2 separate regions of the Homo sapiens genome follow, and region 1 is linked to region 2. Evidence: promoter capture Hi-C in 16 types of primary human blood cells and fetal thymus (Javierre and others, 2016). All regions are on one chromosome and are shown on one strand. The core of a region is centred on a gene start or on the middle of the fragment in contact, and the rest is flanking DNA. Distances in the headings are between cores, read along the strand shown. Region 1 holds the start of PCDH8 (protocadherin 8). Region 2 holds the start of CNMD (chondromodulin).

Region 1 (7,088 bases), core at 3,330-5,829, 110 kb after region 2:
CTTGAAATCTACCACAGAGTCAAGATATACAAGTTATACTTGGCAAGGCAAAATTTCTCAAACACTAGGTTGTTTCAGGTGAAAGATAAATTTCAATTAAGTAATTCCAACATGTTTTGTTTTTTGTCTTACAGACAGTTCCTTTGGCAATAACTTCCACTTTAGCTTTTATTATATAAAAATATAACAAAATTTCATTATATACAAACATTACATTACACAATGTACAGGTTAAAAACACTAAGAAAATGGCAAGCCGCAATTGAAATCAAAGTCAATAGCATAAGAAAAATTAAATACTGCACACATTTCATAAAAATTACATTAACTACATTTTTGTTTGCAAATACCAAACAGTACCAATGTGATTGGAAATAGCTTCCAACAACTTCATTGTAAGGCACATCTTGCATATTTATATATACAACACTGAAACCGGTCAATAACTTAGGGGCTTCTCGGAGTGACCTGTATATGTGTGAAGACATGCAGCATGGGATTACACATTTTCATTGGCTCCCTTCTTCGGGGACAGGTACCTGCCAGGAGGGGACTGGTAGAGGGGTACTCCAATCTCCTGCAGGTCTGGGAGCCTCCCTGGACGGGGAGGGGAGAGCAGAGTGACTGTCCTGTCATAGTCTCTGTGCAGTACTTTCTCATAGACGCTCTGCAGCCCCACTGTCTTGGGCAGCTGGGCCTGGTAGTAATTGTCCCTGCGCAGAGGATCCCGAGGCAGTGACGTGCTCTTACAGAAGGTTGACATCTGGGCTGGTGGGTGAGGCGATGGATGTGCGTTGGGCCCGCTGCAGGATGGGCTCCAGCAGCGGTCAGAGTGGCCCAGGATCTTACACTCAGCGGTGCACGCCCACAGTCCTAATACGAAAGGGAAAAGGAAACAGCATGACGATTATTCCTGAGATTATACATATTCAGGCTTCCATCTTCAGCATGTCAGCCTGGGTCAGGGCAGCTGAAAGGAAAGGCTGTGCGCATAGATATACACCGTGTCTCAAGAATCGAAGGCACATTGCTTCCTGTAAAGCCATCTTAATGCAAAGCTGGTCCAGCTTCTTCAGCTGGAAGTGAAAAAAAAAATTGATAAGCAGAACCCACTTTTTAATGGCTAGCATCACCCATGCTGCTGCCTAACAGGATGAGGGTGTGTTTTATTCAAGAGCTGGAGTTGCCTCGACTTGGCATTTTGAAATTCACCGTGTGAGGCAGGCCCGTATCCGCAGCTGTAGGAGTGAGAAAAAGTGGGGAAGAGGGAAGGGGGCTGGGAACCGAGATTGAGAGGAGGCAAACAGTGGTGAAGGGGAGGGAAGGGAGGAATGCCGAATTTGGCGGGAAAGAAGAGTCCTCACCACTCTGCATGTGGTTGATGAGATCCTTTTTCAGAGCGTCCCCGCTGATGTCGGAATCGCTGTCGTTGAAATCACTGTCCCCTTTACCGCTGTCTTTGCCGCTGAACTTCTCTGCTTCTCTGCCAGAAATGGTGTTGAAGGAGTGTCCTTTCCACACCGCCACAGGGGGCGCCGGCTCCTTTCCAAAACCCGGGGAGGCACCGTAGGGCTGCAGCAGGGAATAGGGGAATGGGAGTGGGGGGAGGGTTGGATAAGAAACAAACAAAAAACAAGTGCGACAGGTTGTCTACCTGAATGCACCCACCCTACCCCTCCAGTCTCCCTTCCCCCAGCCTGTCCGCGGAGCTCGGAGGGGGGCGCCCAGCCGAAGGAAGGCCTCACCTCGGCGTGCGCGCCGCGGAGCCGCTGCTGCCCCTCGAAGTGACAGGCGCTTTCCCCAGTGGCGCTGCCGCCCTCTGAGCCCGGCACTTCGGCCGCGGCGACCGCAGGCGGAGGCGCGTCCGCCGCGGGGCTGCCAAAGGGCGCTTTGCCGGTGCCAGGGAAGGTGAGCACGTCGAACATGTTGGGCCTGGGCCCGGCTCCCCGGGCGGCCTCCTCCGGGGAGCCGGGAGCCGAGGCTCCGCCGCCCGCCGCCCCGGGCCGCTCTTCCCGGAGGGCCCCCCCTTTGCGCACCTCCTTCTTGCGGCGGTTGCAGGTGGTGGCGATGGCGATGATGGCGGCCAGCAGCAGCGTGCAGCTCCCGGCCAGCACGATGATGACGATCAGCGGCGTGTCCCATTGCAGCACCGACCCGGACACCCCGAGCCGAGAGCCAGGCGGGCGGGAACGCTCCGGGCTTCCTGCACTGGCAGGCGCAGCCGGCCCACGCCCGCCCCCTGCTGTTACCACGAAGCTGACAGTTGCGGTGGTGGTGAGCGGGGGACGGCCGCCGTCGGATATGACCAGGAGCGCCCTGAACACGCGACCGGGTGGCTCCTGCGAGAGGTCGCCGGTGAGCAGTATCTCCCCCGTGCGGCGGCCGATGGCGAAGGCTTCGCGCGGCTCCTGCTGCTGCAGCTCGAACGCCAGCTCCCCGTTGGCTCCCTCGTCTGCATCCCGGGCCTGCACACGGGCCACAACCGTGTCCTTTGCGGTGCGCCCAGGCACCGCCACTTCTAGGGAGCCATTGGCTGGCGCCGGGTGCACCAGGACTGGCGCATGGTCGTTCTGGTCCAGCACGCGCACTTGCACTAGGGCGCTGCTGGAAAGCTGAGGGGAGCCGCCGTCGCTAGCTTGGATGCGAACGTCGAGTTGGCGCAGCGTCTCATAGTCGAAGCTGCGCAGCGCGTAGATGGCTCCGGTAGCTGGGTCCACCGAGACATAAGTGGACACGGCGCCCCCGGCGCGGCCCACCTCGGCCTCCAGCAGCCGGTAGGTGACCTGGCCGTTGCGGCCCAGGTCCCGGTCGCGGGCGGCCACCGTGGCCAGGTAGGCGCCTGGCGGGTTGTTCTCGCGCACCGACACCTCATAGACCGGCCGCGTGAAGAGCGGCGCGTTGTCGTTCTCGTCGCCCACACGCACCGTGTAGGGCCGCACTGTGCGCAGCGGGGGCGCGCCGCGATCCTCGGCCACCAGCGTCAAGTTGTACTCGGCGATGCGTTCGCGGTCCAGCGACGCCGCGGTCACCACCAGGTAGCTGCCCGCGTAGGCCGGCTGCAGCCGGAAGTGCTCGTGCCCATAGAGGGCGCAGCGCACTTGCCCGTTGGCGCCCGAGTCCCTGTCCGAGGTGCTGACCAGGGCCACCAGGCTCTCGCGCGCCGCCCCCTCCGGCACCAGCGAAGTGGCACCAGCCTCCGGCGTCCCGGCTCCCGCCGGCGAGCTAGCGTCCGCTCCCCCGAGTGCAGCGGCGGCGGCGGCAGCGGCGAAGGGTGAGGTTGCCGGCGCGCCTGGGGCGGCCAGCGGGGTGATGGCGATGTCGGGTGCGTTGTCATTGACGTCTCGGATGCGCACGATGACCTTGCAGGTGGCAGCGCGGGGCCCGGGTCCGCGGTCCTGCGCCCGCACGTCCAGCTCGTAGGTGTCCTGACGCTCGTAGTCCACGGGCCCGGCCAGGGTGAGGCGGCCTGATCGCGGGTCAAGCCGAAAGAGGCGGCGCGCCTCCGGCGGGGTGCGGGCGCCAAATGCGAACACCACGTCGCCGTTAGGTCCCTCGTCGGGGTCGGCTGCGTCCAGGTCGAGAAGCAGGGAGCCCACGGGCGCGTCTTCCGCCAGCTCCACTTCGGCCACGGCGCCCTGCGGGAAGGCCGGGCTGTGGTCATTCGCATCCAGGACGCGCACGCTGAGGGCAGCCGTGGCGGAGCGCGGCGGGCGGCCGCCGTCCTGGGCCACCAGCTCCAGGCTGTAGGCGGCCTGGCTCTCGCGGTCCAGCTCCTGCAGCAGCACCAGGTCTGCGCACTGAGCGCCGTCCGCTCGCGTCTGCAGCTCCACGCGAAAGGGGCTGTGCGGCTCGGCCAGGCGCACGGTCTGCAGCCCGTTGGCGCCCACGTCCTCGTCCACCGGCACCTCCAAGGGGATGCGCGTGCCCACTGCCGCACCCTCGGACACCTCTACCGGGATCTGGGCCCTGGGGAAGCGCGGCGCGTGGTCGTTGACGTCCCTCACCTCTACCTCCACGTGCACCAGCCGGAACTGCTCCTGCGAGAAGCTGACCACATCGAAGGCCAGCACGCACTGCGGGGCCTGGCCACACAGCCGCTCGCGGTCCAGGCCGGCGTCCCCGACGGTCAGCTGCCCGTCGCCTTCGCGCACCCGGAGCAGAGAGCTGTTGAATTGCTTCATCAGGCGGAAGCTTGTGTCACCCGATACTTTCATATGCAGGTCCTCGGCCAGGGTCCCGATGACCGTGCCGGGGGCATCCTCCTCGAAGGTGCTGTATCGGACTGTTTTGCTCTGGGCCACTGAGAGCACCCAGCAGAGGCTGAAGAGCTGCAAGGGGAAAAGGCAGGGGCTGCCCCAACGCCTCACAGGACTCATGCCTCCAGCCTCAAGTGCGATCCGAAAGGCTAAGGAAGTCTTCTCTGGTTTCCAGGTCGGGCGTCAGTCTCAGGCTCTCGGAATCACGCTCTTTGCGAGCCCTGTGCGGGAGAAGTCTGCGGGTAGCAGCTCCGAGCCTCCAGCGGGCTCTGAGGACGCGCGGACCCGCCCTCACTCTGCGCCTCTCCGTCTCTTACAGAAGCTGCGCCGCCTCGCGCCGCCTTTGCCTTTATAGCCGCCGATATGCTAATCACCCGAGCCGGGTAGCCAATGGCCGCCTCCCCCTCGCGTCGCCCCTCCGCCTGCCTCTGACAATCCCTTTAATGTGGAAAGGCTTAGAGGGGAAAACAAGAAAGGAAAATTAGGGAATCTTTCTTTTGTTTAACTCCTTTTGCTTTTTCCCCCTTTTCTTGTCAGCACCCTGCATGTAGAGGAGTTGGCACAGGGCTCCAGGAGTAAAAGGAGCGGATGGTTTTGTTAATTGTCGCCTGCCTCCCTCCGTGCCGCGGCTAGAACTAAGTGCGAACACGCTGGGGTTTCACCCCAGTGGCTCCTGATTCCGCCTTCCCCCAGCCCCTGCCAACACACACACTCTGCATTTTGCACCTCTGACGCTTCCAAACCCTTGCAGCCCCCTACCCACAGACTTGCTCTGCTGAATGAGGCTCTGCTTTCCTTCTCTCCTAGCTACGGTGCCTGGAATAGCCTCTCGATTAAGAAGCCTGAAGGATAAGGGAAAATTGATTTTATTCAAATTTGTGTACTCAATTGTGTTTTGCTCGTGTGAGCCCCAGTGATCAGAGCTGCCACTTCCCTTTCAGAAAAGAGCCCCGCGATATGTTAGTATGCACGTCACTGTCCAAGTGGCCTTCTTAAGCCCTGGGAGCTAGCAGGCAAGGAAAAAAAAGTTCCAAATAGGATTTAGCATAAGCTTGAGGAGATTTGGAAAGGTTTCAAAGATCAGACTGTATCAAAGGCTTATGAAGCCCTCGTTAGCAGTGGAAATAGAATGGTGTGGCAGGCGATCCCATTGGAGGCCCCAATGTCTGTATTATTTCACTGTGACAAGCTAAGGGGAGAGAAAGTTGAACAGTTTCCACAGCGGAGTTGGACTAACTTGAATATAATGAGCAAACGCCACATGTATCCATTATGTTCCTCTATTCATCCCCAATCACTGCCATAACTCTCCGGCTAAACGGTGATGGGCGCTGAATTCCACACAATACCCGGCTCGTATTAAAGTGCATTTAGAGAACTTTTTCCTCCTGATGCCTTGTTCCGCCTATTTAGAGGATTTTCTTTCTGTTCTAATAGGGCCACTCTGGGAAGCAACACTCGTCCGGTTCCAGAAGAACAAAATCACAGCGTGACGTTGAAACCTGGCAGGAACGTGGGGGGAACTTAACCATCTGCTTAGGAAAGTGTGGAGCTTCGGCACTGCCAAAATCTGGGCTGGGCGGATCCTGGGGCTGGCCGGGCGCTGCGCTGCCCCACAGATAGCCCCCTCCCATCCCTGACGGCCAGGGAGATGGAGCTCGGATCTGCAACAAGACGGATTCTTAATGATTCTTACTGAAGGGCTTTATTGAGCAGGCTATGCAAATACACACGAAGGAGGAAAGGTAAAAAACAAAAGCCACTCACTGGAAGAAATTTTTCTTTTTAGGCGATAGGTTTGGTAAGTAGATTGAATTCAGTAAACATTCTTCAGAATCCCGATTTTGGTCCTGCTGTCAGCGTCCTATCCATGTTTTCCTTTCCCTCAAACTCGAGGGAGTGTGTTTTGGGTTTTTTTTCAGAAGAGGGTCAGGAGTTTCCTTGGAGTAGGGAGACCAAGCAGGGAGCTGGGTGGCAGGGATGAGAGGTGCTTGGAATTGTCAGAGAGCGGAACATGCAGCTCCAGCCATCCATAAATACAAGCTCTTATAAGACTGGGGAGGGGGATGATGAGTGGCTGGAGACTTCCTCAGAGGGGTGTGTCTCTGGGTTCCCTTCTCCACCTCTTCCACCTTGTAGTCTTGGGAATGCTAAAAGCAATAAGGCCAGGCATCTGCAGCCGCGTGGGGACGTGGAAGGAGGAGCGCCCCCTACAGGAGCCCAAATCGCAGCCCTTTCTTCCGCTGTCTTCCATCTCCCAAGTGCGATTTAGTATGTAGCCCTCCCACCGTCCCCGCCCAAGAGATATTCCTTGGGGGGTACACGCAGTCGAAGGAACTTTCTATTTTCCTTCCGAGCCCCGCAACACTCCCACCCCAACCTGGGGCTGGCTGGTGACCTTTAGCGCCCCTAGGCTAACGTCATCTCTCCTCACCCCTCTTCCCCCGGAGACCCAGACGGGAACAGGTTCAGAACTTGGCTGGTGGACAGCGGCCTCAGCGCTTCCGCTGGCGTACCCAGGGCAAGGTCAGGCCCGCCTGGCGCTGCTGCTGCCGGGCGGAGGACCCGGAAGGTGGGGAAAGTGGGTGGAAATGGGGCCGGAGTCCCAAAGGAAGGGATTTCAGCGGTTTCCGCGAGCACAGCCCGGCCGCGAATGGCTGGGACCCGGACCTCGCGCCAGCGCCCCCTGCGCATCTGCACCCCGCAGTTCTGGGCTGGACTCGGGAGCCCCGCCACGCGCTAAGTTTGGGTTTTTCGCTTGGCCAGAGATTCGGAACTACTTGCAATTTCTACTCAAAGTGCTTCCGCGTCAGCATGCTCATTCTCAAGGCT
Region 2 (6,733 bases), core at 1,929-4,428:
TATCCAAACAAGATGAAATTTATTATTTGCCAAAATTCTGCTCAATATGGTGCCTTTTACAGCCAAGGATATTTGCTAATGAGTTTTTAATAAGGCCTATGTTCTATAAGATTAATTACATAATGTTTGGGAAAATGTCTAGAAAAATTAGTCTGAGAGGAAAGGCCCCAAGCAATGATCTCCTTCCCTCATCTCACAGGGTGGGGTTGTCAGTTATCTCATATTGGTGGAAATTTCCCATATTTCAATGCCTTGTTCCATTTACAATAATGTGGATGAAAAATGGCCTCAATATTGGAGCCCAGTTCAGTTGTCCCCTGATTATTATTACTCCAGTGCTTCATAGTCCTCCAGCTAAATTTCAGTAAACCTGTCCTAAGGGGATTTACCCACATGAAAAGGATAGGAGGTGAATTACAGCTGGTTCTCCTCTATAAACCAATATAGAGGAGCCGAGGCACAGATAATCCCCAAAGAGTGGATAATCCATTTGGTTTGACAAGTCTTTCTGTTTGACAAAGACTTACCTTTTTTGATTACGTTTTGTCTGAGCTATTTAGATTTGTATTCAGGCAAAGCAGACCTGTGCATGTGCTATGCCTAGGTGGTGCAAAAATTACTCTATTTAGTATTTTGTGATTTGTTTTTCATACTTAAGTCATATGGATCAGGGAGAAAAAAACTATCATGATTTTCTTCATTCTCCTGTCTGTATAGGATATAGCAATAATTTTGATTGTTGACAATAAAATGTGATTCACTATTCCTCTGAATTCTTAGCATTTAATACTGCTCTCCTGAACCAGACAACCAACCATCTTGCAGTAAAGTAAAATATATGAAAAAAGGGAGCTGTGCTTATTCAGTATGATTGTTTAATCTCTCTTTTTAGAAGCCTGTCAGTTAGTGATGTTTACCTTGAATAATTAAATGACAAATGGTATTCATTTTAAAATATATCATGTCCAGAATCTTTACCAAAAAAAAGCATAGCTATTGTTATCCCCCATTGACCTATACCATTGAGGCTTTGTTATTTAAAAGATAGCATTTACATTCTAAAACCACAGAATTTCCCAAAGAGATGACAATCTAAACCCTGCTATTAATGGAGATGTAGATATTGAAATCATTCTCTTATTCACATTTGCTGTTTCAAACATGAGCATCTGGCCCAGCTTCTATATTTAAAATACAAATACATTAAGGCACTTTTCAAATACCCACAAAATACAGTGCAATTCTGATCTTACAAATCGATGCTTGTAAATTTGATATAGTCTCTAAAACAGACTCGGTGCTAAATGGCATGCTTATCTACATTAGACATTTGAGTTAAAAATACAAATTATGCAGTGACTGCAGAAGACGTGATGTGTAAAATGGTTGAATTGCTTTCAGCACCATTTTCTGTAAGTACTGGAATTCGTTCATGCTTTGCATTTCATGGTAGGAGAGAGGAAAAAACAGCAATCACCAATCCTCTGAGGATAGTGATTATGAAAGAGCCCTTTGTGTGTGCCCTGGAGATGGAATTCTTTTCCATTAGTTGAAATAAGCTTATACCAGACCTGGCAGTGGTCATCAAGATAAAATGCCCCCTTTTACATAGGTGAACACTTTCAGAGTATTTAGAGAACACACTGGAGCTCTGCCCAGTCAACTTAGAAACAGTCTTTATACTCCTCGAGAGCCGTGGAGCTTTAAAATAAATAGTTGCATACAAAGAAAGTAGGACAGCAGTTAGTAAAACACCTACTATTAAACCACATGTGATGACTAGGCCAGAATTAATTGTTAAAGAGATTTTCCACCTTTAAGGAAGTTAGACGTTTTGTTTGTTTGTTTGTTTTTTGTTTTTGTTTTCCAGAGAGAGAAGGGAATGTTCATGGCTAGGTCACAAAAAAACCTTCTGAAAGGCAAAAATTCCTTCCCAATGGGTCTGAATATGGGTCTGAATATTCCTCCACTATCTTTGTCCTGGATTTTAAACCCACAGCCTTTCTTAGCAGGGACAGGCCTTAGAGATCGTCCAGTTCCATTTTTTCCCTTCAGGACGAGTACACTGAGGCCAAAAGGTGACGTGCCTTCCCCACGGTCGCGCCACTGCTTAGTGGGAGATGAGCCGAGAACGGCCTTTCTCGGACCGTCCACTACATTCTCCCCTACTCTACGCTTCAATCTTCTCCCGTGAAACCTTCACTTGCTTTTCTACAACGTTGACCTAAGGCGGAAAGCCGCGTGCCAGAGTGGGATGGGAGAGGGGAGCTCACGCTGGGCCCGAGGGGCCCGCCGGCAGCCGCGCGCCCCTCGCCGGCCCGCGCTCGGGCTCCCCCTAGGGGCACCATGGGCGACACGGGGGTCCCCGCGCGCCGCCCTCTGGACTTACGTGACTGTCGCTCCCCTTCCAGAAGTAGAAGGCCCCGATGGCCCCAAAGAGCAGCAGCACAGCTCCCGAAATGAGGACCACGGCTCCCACCTTGAGCAGCCGCGCGGGGCTGGAGGGCTTCACCGTCAGCGTAGCGTACGCCTGCGGGCCGGGGCGGGAGAGGGACCGTCGCGTTTGTGCCGCCAGCACCTGCGGCCCCCAGCGCACCCGGGCCCCACGCGGTAGCCCCCAGGGAGTGGGGAGTCGGGCGGGAAACAGCTCGCCCGGGCTCCTACGGGTGCCCCTTTCGCCGCGCTCCCTCCCGAGGGTCCTTTGCAGTCGGGCGTGGAAGTGGGATGAGCAAACCCCGCAGCACAGGGCCTTCGCCCCAGGACCTGCACCCTCTACCGGCCACGGGACGTCCCTCCGCACCCGCCTGTGGATGCCGTGACCCCTGCACACTCATACGCGTGGGGCGACATCCCACCCACACATTTGGGACCCAAATTTATCCCCCCGCCAACACACCCATTCGGTGGCACGCACCCCTGAGTCCGAACTGTGGAACCTGATACTCACACAACCCAGGCCCTGCGTGTGGAATCCCTGGCGGTACTCACCGGGGGGCTGCAGAATTCCACGTCATCAGGTCCCACCAGGGCAATGGGAACTTTGTCGGAGTTCTCTGTCATGTTTGCGGCGGGAGGAGTGAGGCACTTGGAGACTCCCTGGGCACCCTGGGATCTGTCCCGCTGCCCCGACGTGCAGGGCATTTCAACGCCGCGCGCACACACGGTGCACGGTCCCGCCTGGGCCAGCCCAGCGGTCCCCACCCCTTCCAGCGCCTCACCTCTCTCCTCCCTTCTCTCTCCCGCCGCGGGAAGCTCGTCCTGCACTCCCGGATGCCCCCTTTCCTCCTCACTCTATCCTGTCTACTGGCCCCCCAAACAGCATCCCGGTGACTCTGAATGTGTGGGGGTGGTTGCATCCCTCAGAGCGGGATGCTGAATCCTGGGACCCAAAGAAATACTCAAGTGCCAGAGCAATTAGCCATGCACCGGAGGATGTCTTAGAATGTCAGCGGGCTCTGCTGTGACAACTGGCTGGAGGCCATTTCCTGCAGGGTCTTTGTAGGTGTGTGTTGGGGTGGGGGTGGGGGGAAGATGGCTCATGGAAGGTGAAGGAGAAGACAACAGAGTGGTGCAGGTGGACAGGGGACACTGGCCTAAGAGTGTAAGGGTTAGGCCACCTTCTCACTGGCCTGGCATTGCTGGATGGCCCCTGGGACTGGAAAACAGAGCAGGGTCTTAGGGATGGCTCCTTGCCACCAGTTTTTCTAGGGTCTGGGTACAACTGCAGCAAAAGTGAGAGCTAAGCAGAGCAGGGCTGGAGGGAAGGAGTTGGGGAGACCAGAATAAAAGTGCATGCTGGTTGGTTGAATAAATTAAATAAGTGCAAACAAAAGCAACAATGGCAAAGCACACACACACACACACACACACACACAGAGTACTGATGTATCCAAAGGAATAACACAAATGTGTGTGTGTGTGTGTGTGTGTGTGTGTATGTATGTATGTATATAAAATTTTCACTTTTGGAAATGCCATCTTCCAGTTCCAGGATACATGGTACTTCATTTGGATCCAGGCTTCCTTAAATTGCGTTCGATTCTAGCTTTGTGCAGAGCTCTCTGGTGAGGTGTAAGTGAGGAGCACTAGTGCATGAGAGGGATTGAGGCTTCCCCAAAGGGCAGCGGGAGATTGCATGTGCAGGACTGCAGAAGGAGAAAGTGTTGAAGAATCATCCAAGACATGTGATGAAGAATGAGGTGACAAGCATGATGACCTGGGGCTGGGAAGGAGGGGAGAAGTGGAGGAGACCACTTTCACAGAAGAATCGATAGGACTTGGCAATTCCTGGGCTGTGGGAACTGAGTTTTCAGACCTAGGAGGATTGGGAGAGTGATAGGAACCCTAGGGAAGTGAAAAAATTGGAAGAAACAGTTTTAGACATGTTGAGCTTGATGTGGGGATGAAAAGTAAAAGAGCCAAGGAAATGTCCTGAGCCTGCATTGGAATCAGCTATGGAAACAGCTGTCTGCACATCACACTAGACTTAAGGTGCTTGGAAAAAACTCCAGCAAGATCTCCAGCCAGGGCTCATCCCTGGGGCACTGCTGAGGCAGAGTTCAAAGACCTCTTTTCACAAGGGCATTCTTCACAGGAATTTTGGTGAAGGAATAAGAGAAGTAACTGTCAGAGAGGTGGGAGATGGTACAATATAAAGTAGTACATGTAATTTTAAAGGCACATTCAAGAAGGGTGGGTCAGCAGTGTCAAATGCTGAAAAAAAATGAGCACAGAGAAAGGCCTTGGAAGGGCACAACCAAGAGGCCATGGGAACCAGCGAGAGAGTAGTTCCATTTGCTTCCCTGGGCACAGAAGACACATTGCAAAGGGTTACAGAGTGATTAAAAATATTTGCAACTTATACCACAGACAAGGAACTAGTTTTCTTATATAGTGTTTTCCTAGGAAAACCAAAAGACCAAAAATGTAGTAGAAAAAATGGCAAAGAATGGAAACAGAGAGTTGGTGAAGCAAGAAGTAGAAATTTCTCTTAAATGTAAGAAGAATGAACAACAGCATTATTTTGCCTTTTTTTTTTTTTTTTTTTTTTTTTTTTTGAGACAGAGTCTTGCTCTATCGCCCAGGCTGGAGTGCAGTGGTGCGATTTTGGCTCACTGCAACCTCCACCTCCCAGGTTCAAGTGGTTCTCCTGCCTCAGCCTCCCAAGTGGCTGGTATTACAGGCGCCAGCCACCATGCCTGACTAATTTTTCTATTTTTAATAGAGGCAGGGTTTCACCACGTTCGCCAGGCTGGTCTCGAACTCCTGACATCAAGTGATCCGCCCACCTTGACCTTCCAAAATGCTGGGATTACAGGCATGAGCCACCACGCCTGGCCACAACTGCATTCATACAAGGAAATGCAAATTAAAAGTAGACTGGTTCACCTATGAGACTGGAAAAACATAAAAACGCTTGTTAAAACAATCTGTTGAAAAATATGAGGGGCAGTGAATTTATGGACTACTGTAGTGGGTGAATTGGTACAACTTCTATGGAGAACAATTTAATTCCAAAATGCAAAATGCAGTTTCATTTCTATGGATTTATCCTACAGATGCACTCACAAGGGTGGAAAAATCCTGCAGGTGCAACGATGCTCACTGCAGCATGTTTGTTAGAACAAAGCACTAGTAATATACTCAATGTCCAGAGTAGACAATTTATGATCCATTCTCACCGTGGGGGTTTGGCAGCCCTTTAAAAGAATGAGGCAGCTTTGGATGTAGTGATGTAGATAGAACACTCTCTAAGATACTTCAAGTGAAAAAAGCAAAAGGTAGAAAATGCGTAGAAATGCTTCCATTTGTATAAAGAAATACAAACAAGAATAAATGTAAGTATATGCTTTCTGGAAAGATAAGATGCTGGTAGTGGGGGTTGCCTCTGAGGAAAATGTGAAGCTTGGGGAGACCAGTAGAAAGAAGATGCTTAACTGTGAACCTTCTGAAATGTTTTGAATTCTATATTGTGAACACGCATTAGCTATTCAGGAATTGAGTGAATAAAGCACTAAATAACAGTGAGTAGGTGGGGAGGAAGTGAATGCTACAAATGGAGACAATTCTTTTAACAACTTTCAACTTGAGGGGAAGAAGGATGAATGTAAGGAAGTTTTAGATGAGGGGAGTTAGAGGATCAAGGAAGGTACCACCTTCCCTTGATGAACCTTGAGAAGGAGAGAAGGACTGGAGGGAGTGAGTGGTGAGTGGATACTTTGGGGCCAAACAGACATTGAAGAGAGGGTGAGGAATCAGGGGAAATGCAAGACCTTGCCTCATTCATACATTTTTAACACATAATATACAGAAAGTAGCTGACCAGGGCGTGAGGGGTGAGGAGTGGGTATGGAGATCAGTTGCCTCCTCTGAGCACATTCTCCTAAAGTGGCATATTTTCAACAATTTTAAGGTAGTGTGTTCACATGATGATGGTTATAGATAATGAAAAGGCAGTAGAAAAAGCAGTAAGGGAGCAAGACTGGGAGGCTCATTGCTGTGGTTTGAATGTGTTTCTCAAAATTCATGTGCTGGAAACTGAATTCCCAATGCAAGTGTTGAGAGGTGGACCTTTAAGAGATGATTAGGTCATGAGGGTTCTGCCTTTGTGAAAGGATCAATGCCACTGTTGCAGGAGTGGGGTAGTTATCATGAGAGTGGGTTCCTGATAAAAGGATGAGTTTGGCTCCCTTTCCCTTTCTCACATGGGCATGTGTTCTCTCATTCTTCCACC

What was found. Contacts are between HindIII fragments. The CHiCAGO score rates a contact against its expected background, and 5 or more counts as called.
Region 1: a contact is called between the fragment with the promoter of PCDH8 here and the fragment with the promoter of CNMD in region 2, in 2 of 17 cell types (endothelial precursors and erythroblasts). The highest score is 6.7, in endothelial precursors.

The regions. Positions count from the first base shown.
Region 1 is chr13:52,844,061-52,851,148 of GRCh38, forward strand. PCDH8 (protocadherin 8) reads right to left here and starts at 4,580. Exons shown (of 3, transcript NM_002590.4): 1 at 1,746-4,580; 2 at 1,365-1,572; 3 at 1-873. The coding sequence starts at 4,376. The coding sequence ends at 500. RefSeq lists enhancers at 2,765-3,653, 3,654-4,543, 4,674-4,968, 6,314-6,608. The HindIII fragment of the contact is 1,116 bases long and covers 4,190-5,305 here.
Region 2 is chr13:52,736,642-52,743,374 of GRCh38, forward strand. CNMD (chondromodulin) reads right to left here and starts at 3,179. Exons shown (of 7, transcript NM_007015.3): 1 at 2,989-3,179; 2 at 2,390-2,530. The coding sequence starts at 3,060. RefSeq lists an enhancer at 749-1,250. The HindIII fragment of the contact is 4,345 bases long and covers 1,558-5,902 here.